Regions from separate parts of the Homo sapiens genome. Here region 1 is linked to region 2. Evidence: promoter capture Hi-C in human tissues and cell types (Jung and others, 2019). All regions are on one chromosome and are shown on one strand. The core of a region is centred on a gene start or on the middle of the fragment in contact, and the rest is flanking DNA. Distances in the headings are between cores, read along the strand shown. Region 1 overlaps QRICH1 (glutamine rich 1). Region 2 holds the start of AMT (aminomethyltransferase).

Evidence for each region. The method cuts DNA at HindIII sites, captures the fragments that hold promoters and counts their contacts. A contact is called where the count stands out against the background at its distance.
Region 1: a contact is called between a fragment that was not itself captured here and the fragment with the promoter of AMT in region 2, in 3 of the 25 tissues and cell types used here (dorsolateral prefrontal cortex, liver and mesenchymal stem cells).

The regions. Positions count from the first base shown.
Region 1 is chr3:49,076,019-49,079,443 of GRCh38, forward strand. It overlaps QRICH1 (glutamine rich 1), which reads right to left. Exons shown (of 10, transcript NM_198880.3): 2 at 691-1,020. The coding sequence starts at 999. Among named protein-coding and RNA genes, the nearest start is that of QRICH1, 16 kb to the right of the region's middle. The HindIII fragment of the contact is 7,025 bases long and covers 1-3,425 here.
Region 2 is chr3:49,421,012-49,424,452 of GRCh38, forward strand. It overlaps AMT (aminomethyltransferase), which reads right to left and starts at 1,462. Exons shown (of 9, transcript NM_000481.4): 1 at 1,350-1,462; 2 at 1,093-1,260; 3 at 481-561. The coding sequence starts at 1,439. NICN1 (nicolin 1, tubulin polyglutamylase complex subunit) reads right to left here. Exons shown (of 6, transcript NM_032316.3): 6 at 1,322-3,441. RefSeq lists enhancers at 337-1,089, 1,090-1,843. The HindIII fragment of the contact is 4,289 bases long and covers 1-2,259 here.

The DNA of each region.
Region 1 (3,425 bases), core at 860-3,359, 340 kb before region 2:
GGATCATGAGGTCAGGAGTTCAAGACCAGCCTGGCCAACATAGTGAAACCCCGTCTCTATTAAAAGTATAAAAAATTAGCCGAGTGTGTTGGCAGGCACCTGGAATCCCAGCTACTCAGGAGGCTGGGGCAGGAGAATCCATCCTGGACCACAGTGCAAGACTCCATCTCAAAAAAAGAAGAAACAAACAAAGAAAACAACCCAAGTACAATGACATGGCAGCACCACAGTGTTGGTCAGCCTCGGAAAGCCAGTCCCCCACCATCACTGACATCGCCGCCGGCGGGGTCACGTGCCGGGACCGGGTTCCGGTGTGGAGAGCCCCTCATCCTGGGAAAAGGTGCTGCCAGAAAGGTGGCGCCCCCTCACTCATCACGCAAGTCACGTTGAACCTGATGCTAAACCAATCATAGATGACCCGCTTCTGGGTTGGGGTTTCCTAGGTAGCTAAGCAGATCCCTGGCTGCAATCTATTCAAAGTCAGTCCTTGACACTGGGGTTTGTTTAAAAAAAAAAAAAAGCTTAAAGAAAAAGGAGAAGAAAGAAAAAACTTTTAGTCCACATTAACTTTGAAAATCTTAGTGTTAAATAACCTATAACATCCACATAGATGTGATGAGCCCACTAACTAAAACACTGACAACAAATAAAGTACATTAAACAGGCTGCACCTCAGCATTTCCCATATACCTGAACCTGCTGCGGCTGCTGAACCTGGATCTGCTGTTCTTGCTGGGTTTGTGGCTGAACACTGGTGGTGACTGGACAGGCAAGTTCAAGCAAAGACCCAGCCACTTCAGTGCTGTCTGTGTATATGCAGTTCCCACCCTGTTGGTACACCATGGTAGTGGTGGCTGTCTGCTGGAACTCCTGAAGGGCTTCTGGCCCCTTAGAGGCCAGTGAGTCCAGAAATTCCTTCATCCTGTGTTGCGGGACAGACCGTGCCTTTACTCGGATGTACTCTTCAAAGGAGATGGTGTTCTCTAGGGAATTATTCATATTGCAGAGTCCTTAGGGTTCCTAGAAATAAACAGAAGTCAAAATTATGTTACTGTTTTTAGCAGGAAATGCCCAGAAGCAATTACCCTTGCACAAGAGTGGAATATATTCAGGGCAGCTGTATACATATAGAATCAAAAAATAAAGTTTTATTATACCACCTTATTTTTTCAATTAATGGATGTTTGAAAATTATTTCTATTAACATTTCTTAAATAAAACTATCACACTGAAAACAAAAAAACAAACACATGCTTCACAATACTGGATGAAACAGGCTGAAAACACACTTCCTACCCAGCACTAGGTCAATCCCATCTTCTCTGCAGAGCCAAGCACTGGACAGTAAATGTCACATGCAAAACTGCTCTGTGACCATCACAGAGAGGACACCAAGCAAGGAGGAAGCTAGGGGCAGGGATTCCTATGGATATGTTTTATTTCCAAGTATTTCCTACAGCAGAGATAGGTATGCCACCTAGTTGTGGCAAGACACAAGAGGCAGAGGATATGTTCTTCATCTCCCATCAGAAAAACCAAAAATCCTATTTTGCCATGTGGTGCTCACATTCTTTTGCAACACAGCTTACTACTGGTTAAAAGCATGGACTCTGGAGCCAGGCTGCCTGGGTTCAAATCCCAACTTTATGTCTCCTTTATTATGTAACTCTAGAAAAGTCAATTAACCTTAGTTTTCTTGTGAGTAAATGGGGACACAATAGTACTTACCTCACAGTTGACATAAGGATTAAATAAGGCATTTAGAAAATCATCTAGCACATAGATAGCACTACAGAAATGTAACTAATACTATTAAAATAATTCTGGAAAAAAGGTAAATAGTGCTTTAAATATCCAGGTCACTACTAAAATTCAGAAATAAATTCTACAAGTTTTCATCAGGTATTTAATTACCTTAAGAATTAACCTGCAGACGTACAGTTAACTCTCATCATCTGAGGGAAAAGTGTGCAATCTGTGGACTGCTGACCCCTGTCGCTGCTACCTTTGTACCATCCTCCCTTCAACAGCCCGACCTCCAGAACAAAAGTAGCAGCAGGATGAAAGAGTAACAGAAAACAAGCGAACGTTTTTGCCAAAAAGGATTATCAGACAATTCTGAATGTCTGGAAAGGTGATTTGTTCCCTTGAGCAATCAGGATAGATACACTAGACTGACCAGATGCTCTACCTTATGTTACAGATATAAAATATGTGGGTAAACGTCTCCTTTCTTCTACCTAGGCTCTAAGTTCTTGGTAGACAAGACTATGTCCTGGTTCTCTCCGAATAGCTCACCCATGGTAGTTGCTTCATATATACCTGCTGCATTTGAAATTCAATGTGGAAAACGAAGAATTATGGTTCCTTTTTTTTTTTTTTTTTTTTTTTTTTGAGATGGAGTCTCATTCTGTTGCCCAGGCTGGAGTGCAGTGGCTTGATCTTGGCTCACTGCAAGCTCCACCTCCTGGGTTCACACCATTCTCCTGCCTCAGCCTCCCGAGTAGCTGGGACTACAGGCGCCCACCACCACGCCCAGCTAATTTTTTTGTATTTTTAGTAGAGACGAGGTTTCCCCATCTTAGCCAGGATGGTCTCGATCTCCTGACCTCGTGATCCGCCTGCCTCAGCCTCCCAAAGTGCTGAGATTACAGGCGTGAGCCACCACACCTGTCCTTTTTTTTTTTTTTTTTTTTTGAGTTGGAGTCTCCCTCTGTCGCCCAGGCTGGAGTGCAGTGGCACGATCTCGGCTCACTGCAGCCTCCCAGGTTCAAGTGATTTTCCTGCCTCAGCCTCCCGAGTAGCTGGGACTACAGGTGCCCACCACCATGCCCAGCTAATTTATGTATTTTTAGTAGAGACTGGGTTTTGCCATGTTGGCCTGGCTGGTCTCAAACTCCTGACTTCAGGTGACCCTCCCGCCTCGGCCTCCCAAAGTGCTGGGATTATAGACGTGAGCCACCCAATTGGTTTCTGTAATATCCATAGCTCCACGGACTCAAGCAATCCTTCCACCTCAGCCCAGGCAACATGGAGAAACCCCATCTCTACAAAAAATATATAAAAATTAACTGGGTATGGTGGTATGCACCTGTAGTCCCAGCTACTACGGAGGCTAAGGTAGAAGGATTGCTTGAGCCCAGAGATCGAGGCTGCAGTGACCCGAGATCACTCGAATGCACTCCAGCCTAGGCGACAGAGCGTAACTCTGTCTAAAAAAAACAAACAAACAAACAAACAAAAAAATTAAGTTATCAGCTGGTCACAGTGGTGCACACATGTAGTCTCAGCTACTCAGGAGGCTGAGGTGGAGGATTGCTTGAGACCAGGTCTTTGGGCTGGGAAACCTAGAGAGACTTTCATCTGTTAAAAGAAATAAATAAATAAAATAAAATAAATAATTATAATAAAATATTATAATAATT
Region 2 (3,441 bases), core at 212-2,711:
CTGCAACCTCAGCCTCCCGAGTAGCTGGGACTACAAGCACGCGCCACCACGCCCGGCTAATTTTTGTGTTTTTAGTAGAAACGAGGTTTTGCCATGTTGGCCAGGCTGGTCTCGAACTCCTGACCTCAGGTGATCCACCCGCCTTGGCCTCCCCAAGTGCCAGGATTACAGGTGTTTGAGTCACGTCGCCTGGCCAGGGACCACATGTTGAATAGAGAGGGGTTAAGCAGAAGGGATGGCCAGAGAGCAGCATATTAACCTTGGTTTCTGGCCTCCTAGCCTGATGTAGTAAGACTGGGATATTCCCCTCCCTACAAATGTCTGTGTCTCTGGAAATGACTCAGGGATTCTGTCCAAGACTGCAAGCCCTGAGAAGCTGTGTTTGACTCATCTCTGTGCCCCTAAGCCTGAGGTAGGGACTCAGCCCATTTGCTGGCTCATGACTAAGAAAACTCATAGAGCAGAAATAAAAGGGCCCACCTGGTTTGGTCTTAGCTCTGCAATGTCTCCAACCACTAGACTCTCCATCAGCTTCACCCGGTCACTACCAAGTATCTTGGTCTGGGGAAGAGATTGAAAGCCTCAGGCCATTGCAACAGCTACAATCCAAAAGGCTACTAAGCAAGGATGCATCCTCCCTGCCATCCACAGTGCAGTCCAGCCCACCCAAAGTGACTAACCAGTCTTTTGGTTCTACACGTGGCAAAGGACCACCTTCTGATTTCCTGACCTCCCCCAGTCACTCTGTGTGGGGGGACTGCCAGGGAACTGGACAGGACCTAGCACCTTCCTGAAATAACCCCTTTTCAAACCAACATCCAGCCCAATACATGAGAGTGGGTGTCAGCCCTGGAAAACCCGGGACATTAAGGCACACCATTTAATGGGGGCAAGCTAGAAGGATGAGATGATGAGACCCTCTGAGCTCATTTCCTTGGGGCCATTGACCTATCCATGACACCCCCATGACCTCTAGCTCTTCTGAGAAGGCTGTCCTTGGAATCCAGTTCACAGCAAACAAAGCCAAGGAGTGGACCACTGTAAACAGGGAGGAAGGCCTGATCAGATGGCCAGTGTGCTCCCCTGGCTCACCTGCAGCATATGAGACACGTCAAAGAGCGAGCAGTGCTGGCGTGTGTGCAGGTGCGAGTCAGTGTGACTGTCCCGGTACTGCACTGGCAGACTCCAACCCGCAAACGCCACCATTTTCCCGCCGTGGGCCAGGTGGAAGTCATAGAGCGGTGTCCTGCGGAGCACCTCCTGTGGGCGGCTGGGCTTAGTGCCACCAGGGCCCTAGCCCCCAGCCGCTTCCCTCCCCCACCCTCCAAGATCAGCACCCTCTATCCCACCTGTGCGCAACTAAGTGGACGACACAAGGCCGGGGGGAATGCCTGCAGGCGAAAGCCCAGACGGGCCACCACACTTACAGCCCTCTGCATCGTCGCCTGCAACGAGTGCAGACGGCGCACAGAGGCCACCACACTGCCAGGCACGCCGGGAGATGTAGTCCAGGCCTCTGCTCGGACAGGTCTCTCTCCGGAGCAAAGGATCTGAAGGGGGCGTGGGCAGCCCCAAGGGCAGGCTGGGATTTAGAGCAGAGAATGCAGGAACCCGCAACCACAGGGAAGAAGCCTCCAGCTCTTTCGGCTGACTCTTCAGGGCAGCTCGGGCAATCCAGAGCTGATTGGGCTGCCCAGAACAAAGCTAGGGGCTAGACCGCCCCCTGCAGAACCGCCCTGTCTCCAGAGGGTCAAAGTTCTGGAAAGGGCTGAAAGGTCTGAATCATACCTTTAGGACCTCAAGAGAGTAAGGTCAAGTGGGGGTGGGGAAGGTGGGCCAGCCTGGCAGGTAGGCAGCACCACAGTAGTCTGTCCTCATGTGGACCCCTAGTTCCACAGCTCTCCCACCAGGCAGACACAGGCAGCCAGCAGTCATGCATTCCACAAGTATTTATTGATCTTACTGCATACCAGGCCCTCAGATGGGGACACAGCCACGAATGAAGCATGGTCCCTGCTACCACAAGGTCCTCTTCACTTACACACACACTGAGGACTACTGCTTCGTCACGCTTTCCGAAGCAGCTGAGTGGGGCTATGTAAGTGACCTTGCAGATGAAGTCGCCACCTGCAAGAACTCACAGGTGAGAACAGAGGGTGGCCACCAAAAGGTCACTGAACTCCCCCGAGAAAACTGTTGAGCCACACACATGTCCAACTTTCCAGGTCCAAGACATACTGCAGTACTGCTTTGTAATAGCCACCAGGTGCAAAGCCAGGAAGAACCAGAGGGAAACAGGTTTTTCTCACATGAGGGAAGAGCAGCCTGCATCACTTAATGGTTGGACTGAGTTAATGCAGGACTTAGGCCTCTTAAAAGGCAACAATGAGAACCCTTACTTGGACCCACTCCCCACCACGGTTGATCTCTCATTATGCTGAGCATATCTCTTGGAAAGGGGCAGGGCGGGCGCGGTGGCTCATGCCTGTAATCCCAGCACTTTGGAAGGCCAAGGCAGGCAGATCACCTGAGGTCAGGTGTTTGAGACCAGCCTGACCAACATGGAGAAACCCCATCTCTACTACAAATACAAAATTAGCCAGGCATGGTGATGCATGACTGTAATCCCAGCTACTCGGGAGACTGAGGCAGGAGAATTGCTTGAACCTGGGAGGCGGAGGTTGCAGTTAGCCAAGATTGCACTATTGCACTCCAGCCTGGGCAACAAGAGCAAAACTCAACCTCAAAAAAAACAACAAAAAAGGAGAGGGGCAACTGGGAGAAAGGATAGAGATGTGCTTTGGGCTATGTCAGATGGCAGAAGGGTCCCAGTTCTTTTTTTTTTGTTTGTTTGTTTAAGATGGAGTTTCGCTCTTCTTGCCCAGGCTGGAGTGCAATGGCATGATCTCAGGTCCGCAACCTCCACTTCCCGGGTTCAAGAGATTCTCCTGCCTCAGCCTCCCAAGTAGCTGGGATTACAGGTGCCTACCACCACGCCCAGCTAATTTTTTGTATTTTTAGTAGAGACGGGGTTTCTCCAGGTTGGTCAGGCTGGTCTTGAACTCCTGACCTCAGGTGATCCGCCTGCCTGGGCCTCCCAAAGTGCTGGGATTACAGGCGTGAGCCACTGCACCCTGCCTAGAAGGGTCCCAGTTCTTATGCTCAGGCCCTGGTTTTGCTAGAGACACGTGCCCAGGCCCTATGGGCACACCCACTTGAACATATATTCAGGAGCCAGCTCAGAAACCAAGAGACTCAGGCTGCCCAAATCTTCAGGTTTCCTTCCTAGGCAGGCAGCAGAAGAGTTCAGACAGGAAATTTCTCTCTGTGGCATAACACAAATGGAAAGAAAACCACTAGGGGACACACAGGAAGAAATAAGGTTTCTGTTTCTTCCTCAAGTGTCCCAAGTGCCATGGCAGCAATGGCCTTCCAGGTCCA